Linked DNA regions of Homo sapiens: regions 1 and 3 are each linked to region 2. Evidence: promoter capture Hi-C in 16 types of primary human blood cells and fetal thymus (Javierre and others, 2016). All regions are on one chromosome and are shown on one strand. The core of a region is centred on a gene start or on the middle of the fragment in contact, and the rest is flanking DNA. Distances in the headings are between cores, read along the strand shown.

Evidence for each region. Contacts are between HindIII fragments. The CHiCAGO score rates a contact against its expected background, and 5 or more counts as called.
Region 1: a fragment that was not itself captured here is called in contact with the fragment with the promoter of NKIRAS1 in region 2 in 1 of 17 cell types (non-activated CD4 T cells); the score reaches 5.7 in non-activated CD4 T cells.
Region 3: the fragment with the promoter of SETMAR here is called in contact with the fragment with the promoter of NKIRAS1 in region 2 in 1 of 17 cell types (activated CD4 T cells); the score reaches 6.2 in activated CD4 T cells.

The regions. Positions count from the first base shown.
Region 1 is chr3:5,192,592-5,195,454 of GRCh38, forward strand. EDEM1 (ER degradation enhancing alpha-mannosidase like protein 1) reads left to right here. Exons shown (of 12, transcript NM_014674.3): 2 at 2,618-2,690. Among named protein-coding and RNA genes, the nearest start is that of EDEM1, 6.3 kb to the left of the region's middle. RefSeq lists enhancers at 1,959-2,028, 2,429-2,498. The HindIII fragment of the contact is 195 bases long and covers 1,504-1,698 here.
Region 2 is chr3:23,915,465-23,918,312 of GRCh38, forward strand. It overlaps NKIRAS1 (NFKB inhibitor interacting Ras like 1), which reads right to left and starts at 1,526. Exons shown (of 5, transcript NM_020345.4): 1 at 1,320-1,526. It overlaps RPL15 (ribosomal protein L15), which reads left to right and starts at 1,668. Exons shown (of 4, transcript NM_002948.5): 1 at 1,668-1,709; 2 at 2,386-2,567. The coding sequence starts at 2,396. RefSeq lists enhancers at 1,130-1,929, 1,181-2,380, 2,310-2,409. The HindIII fragment of the contact is 19,179 bases long and covers 1-2,848 here.
Region 3 is chr3:4,302,096-4,304,795 of GRCh38, forward strand. It overlaps SETMAR (SET and mariner transposase domain methyltransferase), which reads left to right and starts at 1,274. Exons shown (of 3, transcript NM_006515.4): 1 at 1,274-1,431. The coding sequence starts at 1,276. It also overlaps a transcript of SUMF1 not described here. RefSeq lists enhancers at 871-1,613, 1,642-1,711 and a silencer at 1,212-1,551. The HindIII fragment of the contact is 4,274 bases long and covers 59-2,700 here.

The sequences.
Region 1 (2,863 bases), core at 351-2,850, about 19 Mb before region 2:
CTGGATGAACTTAAAGGTATCAGGTTAGGCTGGAGATTGACAAGAATATCTACAAAGAACAAATCCAGAGTCTGAGCTGCATAGTGGGCTGGCATAAATGGAGTCATAATAATTTCATGCTGTTAGGCCAGTAGAGTTTTATGGTGTTTTTTTTTCTTCCTTCATCCTCACTCCCACTTCCCCCTTATTTTGGCACCTTTTGAAAGAGGATGTAGCAATTATTTGGTAAGAAAGAATTAAAAGTGTTCTAATGAGTAAATACCCCAGATCTTAGAGAGGATTTGTCTGACTAGAGTGGAGAGAAGAAACCCCACAGTTACTGCAAGTAATTTTTTTTTTTTTTTTTACTGTGGCAGCTCATTAATTTTTAGTGACTGGGCATTGTAAAAAATATTTTAAAACTGGGTCTATTTTAGTTATAGATTACAAGGCAAAGCACAATAAAACATAGAAAGGAGTTCAGTGCTCACAGTGAGTACCTTCCTTCCATGGGCCTGTGCAGGTGGATAGAATGACACATGCCGCAGATCTGGGTGTGACTCAGGAGAGGGGAGTTACATGTGGTTCTCCTGATTACCATCTAGCTTGGATGCTACATGATGAGGGAGCTGTTTTCTGATGAGGTGGGCTGTTGAAGCCCACTCTGTTTCTAAGCGGCAGAGCAACAGAGTGAAATATTTACACAGAGCAGAACATTCTTGAGTTGGCAGAATTGGGCGTAAGGATCTCCCTGTCTCCTTTGAGCCCCTCCTGCAACCCTTGCACTTTTTGTACCTTTTTTGGCTGTCACTTGCGCTTGAGAGGCATATTTGAATCCATAGCTCTTGCTTTGAGGGGACCTTTTGCTATTGTATAAGTTTATTTCCAGAAAATCAACAAATAGAAAAAACAGGTACAATTTTCCAGCCAAGCAGTTTTCTGACTTCCCAGCTTATAGGAAATGAGCTAGCCCTAGTTCCTAGACTATAGCCCCCATATATATCTCGTTTCAAAAAAACAGTATCTAAAATTTTTTTTTTTTTTGAGACAGAGTTTCGCTCTTGTTGCCCAGGCTGGAGTGCAATGGCATGATCTCGGCTCACCGCAACCTCCGCCTCCTGAGTTCAAGTAATTCTTCTGCCTCAGCCTCCCTAGTAGCTGGGATTACAGGCGCCTGCCACCACGCCCAGCTAATTTTTGTATTTTTAGTAGAGACAGGGTCTTGCCATGTTGGCCAGGCTGGTCTTGAACTCCTGACCTTGGATGATCCACCCACCTCGGCCTCCCAAAGTGCTGGGATTACAGGCGTGAGCCACCGCACCCAGCCTAAAATTTTACTATAAATTCTTTGCTTTAGATTAGATGGTGTAACAGCATAAAACAAGGCAACTGGAGGGTTCAAATAAAATGAGACATTGGAGCTGTTATGCCTCTTTCACATAAGCCCCATTTTCCCCAGCTGAGGCACAGGCCTTTCAGAGACCACAGCAAGCCATCACAACACGAGAGGTGCTGTGCACCAGAAGCTTCTCTGACTGGAAGGTGAGATAAGGACCCATTAGGGTGATCCGAGGAGCAGATGAAGTGCTTTGGGATATGATGGAAGACTGCAGATATCAATGCATCTTGCTGGAAATAAAACTGGAGCTTTTTTGCTTTGGTTGCTAATAAAATCTTTAAACAGTTGTCTTATGTCTTCTCTTACTATCATTTTTTCCAAGCTTCTGCACTTATTTTCTGGATTTTTGGGAATGGGACAAATAAATAAATGAAGTCCCCAGAATTTCTCAAACTGTCCTTTATTTTACTAGTTCTTCATCCCTATTCTCCCAGATGTATTAGTTTTTTTGTTGTTGACTTTTTTGTAAAGTGTTACAAAGACATACCACAGTGCCTGAGGAGCTTCACCCTTGTCATCCTGAAGTTGGTTTCTTAAGGTTGTTTCAGAATGGAAAATTGGTGTAGATTATGGGGTGAGAGGTGTGTGGCAGAAACGTTTATGTAGCTCCAGTCAAGAAGTGAGAAAGGCCTCAATTCCTGCCTAGGTTCATGTTAAATGATATCTCAGAATTAACGGAAATAATCAAGACCCTTTGGATGAGTTATTAATGAAGAAATGGTGTAAAGAAGTTAATTTATACCCCCAACCATAGGGCAGATGAGTAATATTGACACTGTCAATTAATGTATTTACTTCTTTTTGTGTGTAATATAGGCTGTGGTGTCTAATTTCTGTATTAAAGTATTACAGGTGGGTCGTATGACAAGGGCTCTTCTTTAGTTCCTAATGATTGTGAAATCAGAGCTTTTTAAAGTTGGACAGGACCAAGGAGATTGTCTATGGTGATAAACCTGAATCTCAGAGAGGAGATGACTCACTGCCTCCTGACTTCCTGTGAGCATTCTTTCCACTCTGGTACAAGTGTGTCTCCACAGTTCTGTGACTTGATTCTACTTATGGACACCATAGAAAGTGTTACTTTGGGGGTAGAAAGACCTTTGCTGTATTAATTCACCCATAATTAGTTCCTGAATAAATAAGAGTTGCTGGCAATTATAGTTTCTGATGGGTGTTTACTTTTATTGTCTTCTCTTTTGAAATAAAGTCTTTTTGTTGAATTTTAATTTTCTTTTTCAGTTCAAATCTGAACATCAATGATGTACTAGGGAACTACTCATTGACTCTTGTTGATGCATTGGATACACTTGCAGTAAGTGTTCACCTTTTTTTAAAAAAATGAATTAAGATGTTTTAGAGTTGATTATCCCTAGTTCCCTCCAGCAGTGGGAATTCCAGGGAGCCTGATAAGTCAAAATGTATCATTAGCTTTGATAACTGTTATTTATTTTAATGACCTTAATGGGGAGAACAAGAAAAGTGTTG
Region 2 (2,848 bases), core at 276-2,775:
AAATTTGTTACAGGAGCAATGGAAGACTAACACAATTTCCTAAGCAGTCTCTCTGCTTCCATTTTTTCTCTCCTTTTAGCCTCAAAAGGAGCAATCCGAGTTATCTTTTTAAAATGTACGCCATATGAAGTCATCCTTCTGTTCAAAATCTGCCAATGAAATCCAAAGTCCATGTGAGAACCTTCACCTCTCCGACGTCATTTCCCACTTTCCCCTACTGTGAATTTCAGCCACACTGCTTCCCTGCTGTTCCTCTATTAATCTTGCATGCTCCAGTCATGGCTCTTCTCCCTCTGCCTGAATCAGACCCCTACTCTTACTCCCAGACTCCTATCCTTGAAGTCCTTTCTTAAATGTTACCTTCTCTCAAAGACTTAACCTGGACACTCCATTCCAAATTGCAACCCTCAGCCGCTAACACTCCCTCATCACTTCCCTCCCCTTATCTTTTTTCCTTAGCATTTACCACCAAACCCAAAACACAGCTTACTTCTGCTTACTGCCCATTTCCAAGAAGGCCAAAAATTCTGCGTTGTTTCCTGCTGCATCCCCAGCAACTATGCCTGGCACATATTAGACACTTAATAAATATTTGTTGAATCAATCAATGAACCAGATAGAGACTCTTAAAAACGTAAAGCTGTGATTTAAAAAGAAAGAAAGAAAAATATGATGTGGGAAAAAAGATAATCAAAACCGCTACGATTAAGAGATAATGATTCTCTTAAGCCTTTGCCACATCTGAACGCATAATCTGGAAGGAAATTAAAGCCACATGACTTAAATTAAAGCCAAGTGAAAATATTCTGGAGAAACAAAGTAAGCCAGTAACCTATTTCTCAATTTAAAAAAAAACCCGCAACGCAAAATGCCAGCATTTTCTCGGCATTTCTTCTCTAAAACATTCACACCTGCCAAACAGGTCTTGGCAAATAAACATTCTGCTCTTCTGAAAAACTGTGGTTCTCATGTTAGCAAATTTGGGACGAAATCCGTATGCAGAAAAAGCGCCGGGCCGCCCGCAATCCACCCACTCCATGACCCTTTTTTAGGACAAAATCCCTGGGCGCTGGGGCCTGCTGGAGGAGCTTCACGCAGTCTGGAGCTGAAGGGACACAGCGAGCGCCCCGACCCGCGACGCCCCGACTCCGCGAAGGCCTCCCTGGGAGGCTGGGGAAGCGTCGGGGGATCTCTCAGCGCAGCTCTGGGGCCCAGATTTCTGCGCCCGTCGTGCGGTGGCCAGAGAGGGACAGCGCAGCGCGGAGACGCGGAGACGCAGAGACTCCGCAGGGGGAGAGCCCGCGGTGCGTGAAACAAACCTGTTCTCTCCTCAGACCTCAAAGACAGCGGCTCCACCGCGGTACGCGGCCACCGGCTTTGGAGCCTGGACCCCAACTTGCCTCCTCTCGCGGAGAGACAGTCGCCGACGCTCGCTTAGCCGCCGAGACCTCGCCGCCAACTCTCTCACCTCTCGAGACGCCCAGGCCGCTCAGGCTCGAATCTTGCGGAGCAGGGGGCGGGACAATAGCGGCCGCGGCGCCCCACTCGGCAGAACTCCGCCACCAGGCGCGATGCCGGAACTACATGTCCCATGACGCTCTGGGAGGCCGCAGCTTTCCACCGGAAAGAGGGTGGCTGAGGTGGGGGAGGAGCCCAAAAGGCATTGTGGGAGTACAGCTCTTTCCTTTCCGTCTGGCGGCAGCCATCAGGTAGGCTGCGTTGAGGATCTTTGCTCTTCCATCCGCCTTTGATCGTCTTCCTCTTCAGCCATCCAGGTCCGGGGACCCTGCGTCCTCGGAGATAGGTCTCCCTCCTGTGCGGCCAGAGTTTGGTCAGGATGCGGGACAGCAAAGGGGTGGAGAGGCGGCCCCCGGGGCGGGTTGAGCGAAGATGTGATGGCGGCGCGAATTCGAGCTGGGCCCGGATCCTGGAGGAGGCGTGGGGCTGACGAATGGGGCGCCCGGGACAAGGCAGCCTAAAGTGAGGCTGCTGGTTGGGTGGGGTAGATGCATTTTCCTCGAGAGTTAATCCTCGGTGGCCGCAGCAGTACCTTGTCCTGTGATGTCAGCGGCATCTCCTTTCAGGTCCTCCTTGGGGACGCCGCCTGCCGCAGCCACCCGCCCCCTTGGTGCTCAGTTCTGGTTCTGTTAATTCGCCCCACCAAAACGTGCCGAGCACCGCTCTGTGCTGGGGTTGCGGAAGTGACTGAACGCGGCTCCGTGGGCGCAGTGGTGGGGGTTGGGCTAGCTGTCCCCGGCAGTTGGTGCAGAGCCATTTTCATTCCCGGCGGTTTCCTTGTTTTTGTTGGGGAACTAAGATGGACGGATACAGTCGTCTTATTGTACTTAAAGCGGATGATATTTAATACACAGTTTGATTTCACAGGTAAGCCAAGATGGGTGCATACAAGTACATCCAGGAGCTATGGAGAAAGAAGCAGTCTGATGTCATGCGCTTTCTTCTGAGGGTCCGCTGCTGGCAGTACCGCCAGCTCTCTGCTCTCCACAGGGCTCCCCGCCCCACCCGGCCTGATAAAGCGCGCCGACTGGGCTACAAGGCCAAGCAAGGTACGTGATCGACTGCGTGGATGCTTGGATAAAATTATATTCGAGAAAAGTTGGAAACCAGCTGTTAGGAAGACACTGCTGCCTCAGTGTCTTTCTTCGCATAGGGCTTTGGCAGAAAAAAGCTAGCAACACTGGTCAGTTACTGTATGCACTGTTGTCTAAAGTGGCAAGTGTGTCAAAGGTTACAAATCTGAATGAGTTCAGACTAAAGCAAAATAAACAGTGTGCCTCCCTGTGTGAGTAGCCTAAGGTGCATTGAAAAAGACTGGGATGTGTTTTAT
Region 3 (2,700 bases), core at 24-2,523, about 20 Mb before region 2:
GGTTTGTGAACCCAAAATTATCTGAGACAGGTCTCAATTTAGAAAGTTTATTTTCCCAAGCTTAAGAATGCGCCCCCAACATAGCCTCAGGCAGTCCTGATGACATGTGCCCAAGGTGGTTGGGATACAGCTTACTCTCACACATTTTAGGGAGACATAATACATCAATCAATACATGTAAGATTGGTTGGATCTGGAAAGGCAGACAACGAGAAGCGGGTGAGGGGTGGCTTCCAGGTCATAGGTAGATTTAAAGATTTTCTGATTGGCAACTGGTTATTATCTAAAGACCTAAAATCAATAGAAACGAATGTCTGGGTTGCAATAAGAGGTTGTGGATACCAAATTTGATCGTGGAGATGAAGCCTCCAAGAGGTAAATTTCAGAGAACAGATTGTAAATGTTTCTTATCAGACTTAAGGTGTGTGTTGATGTTGATGCTGGCTGGCTTTTCCTGAATTCCAAAAGGAAGAAGGGCATAATGAGGCATGTTGGACCCCCCTTCCCATCATGGCCTGAACCACTTTCTCAGGTTAACCTTGGCAGAGAGGAGGGGTCCCTTCAGATGGTTTGGAGGATTGGAATTTTATTTTTGGTTTACAGTTTCAAGGAGAAGCAGGACAATCATGTCAGAGAGCTTCAGTGAGGTTGAAAATGCTCCACCGGATTCAGCAGTCTTGAGGCTATCAGAATCCTTTGGCAGGGCAGGGGTTTGGAGGGGTGAGGGTAGAGGGATGGAGAGGAGGGAAAAGGACAGGCAAAGGGGCACGGATACCTCCATCAGGGAGTGAGCATGCCCCCACACAAATTCCTTAAGGCACCCTGTGAGGCTATCGCCTTGGCACAAACCCTATCACATGTCAGTCAACTTCCCGGCAAGCCGCAGACCTTTAGAAACCTTGGTGTGCGTTTCCCCGCTCGGTTTAGAACGCACCCCTGCCTCCACTCCACAAACGTGCAGTGAGCCCTCAAAAACCTGGACAAATGACCTCACCTCGAAAGCCCCCTCTCTGATGCTCCCAGGAAAAACTAAAGCACCTCACTTTGTTTCGTCCGTACCTTACATGGTTTTGTAATTATCTGTGGTGCCTCTGGCTGAAATCAAAACGGGAGCCAGACCCAAAAAGTCAAGGAAGGGAAGCGCCTTCCAGGCCACTCCTGAGAAGAAACGAACTACAATTCCCATGAGGCGGTGGGGCCACGGGACCACAAGTCCCAGCATCCACCGCGCGGCCCAGGACTGTCAGGGTAGTGGGCGTTGCGTGAGGCGGGTAAATGTTCGCGGAAGCGGCAAAGACGACACGGCCTTGTGGGATGGCGGAGTTTAAGGAGAAGCCTGAGGCCCCGACTGAGCAGCTGGATGTCGCGTGCGGCCAGGAAAACTTGCCGGTGGGCGCGTGGCCCCCGGGGGCCGCGCCGGCGCCCTTCCAGGTAGGGGCGGGGCCAGGCGGCGCGGGAGGCGGGCGCGCGGCTCCCCCACGTGGTCTCCTCAAGCCGCCTCGCTGGGACGGCCTCCCAGTCGCGACCTTTTGTCTTCTCTTACAGCGCACCCGTTGGTGCGCGGGAATAGGTGTGCATGCCCCGGCCTGGGCCTTTTTCTGTTGACCCACGGCATCACCTTAGCAAGGGTGTTGTCCTTTTCAGTCCATTCCCTGAAGCGCAGAACCGGAGGCCTTGTGAGAACCTGGCTTTTTGTCCAGTCCTGTCCTCAGAACTCAAGGAGGCATCACGGGGGGAGTCATTTACCTCCCTGGTCTCAGGTGTCTCTCACAGGTAGGATAAGCCGTGGGGCCTATTAATGGATCGCAGCCGGTGTCGTGCATAAAAACAGCCCCTCGAGTCAGCCTTAGCTGTGGTCTCCCTCACGCTGTGGGCTCTTGGGCGAGTGTAAATTAGCTGTGGCTCAGCCTTAGAGTCTTCCAGCGTACAGTGGAACAGTACCTCTCTTCCGGAGTGCTTTGAAAATGGCAAGGAAAATACACTTTCCGGTTTGCTGTAAGAACTCAGTAAATGTTTGCTTCTATTAACTACCTCAAAGCCCTTTCTACTCTCCTTTTTCTTTTTGAGACTGAGTCTCGCTCTGTCGCCCAGGCTGGAGTGCACTGGCGCGATCTCGGCCCACCGCAACCTCCACCTCCCGGGTTCAAGCGATTCTCCTGCCTCAGCCTCCCGAGTAGCTGGGATTACAGGCATGGGCCACCACGCCCGGCTAATTTTTGTATTTTTAGTAGAGACAGGGTTTCTCCATGTTGGTCAGGCTGGTCTCGAACTCCCAACCTCAGGTGATCCGCCCGCCTCGGCCTCCCAAAATGCTGGGATTACAGGCATGAGCCACGCTCCCAGCCTCTACTGACTTTCTTATCCCTCCGACCTTGGCCTGAGCGTTACCCAAGGAATAAGGAATGACCAAAGATTTTGAAGTGGAAAGAGCGCTGGACGTGGAAGTTGGAGAGTATGGTTCGGAGCTTAGACATCTTAGCTACTTCCCAGAGCCTGAGTTTCTTCATCTGCAAAATGAAAATAATAATTTAAAAATGCATAGCCCCTTTAACATCCATTATCAACAATGAACCCTATCTGCCCTTTCTTTTTCCTAGGGGTTTTTGTGAGGATCAGATAAGATAAGAGATTCAATAGCAGCTTTCAAAGATGTCAAGGAAAAGAATCAAACTCTAAAATATTTGAAGAGATTTATTCTGA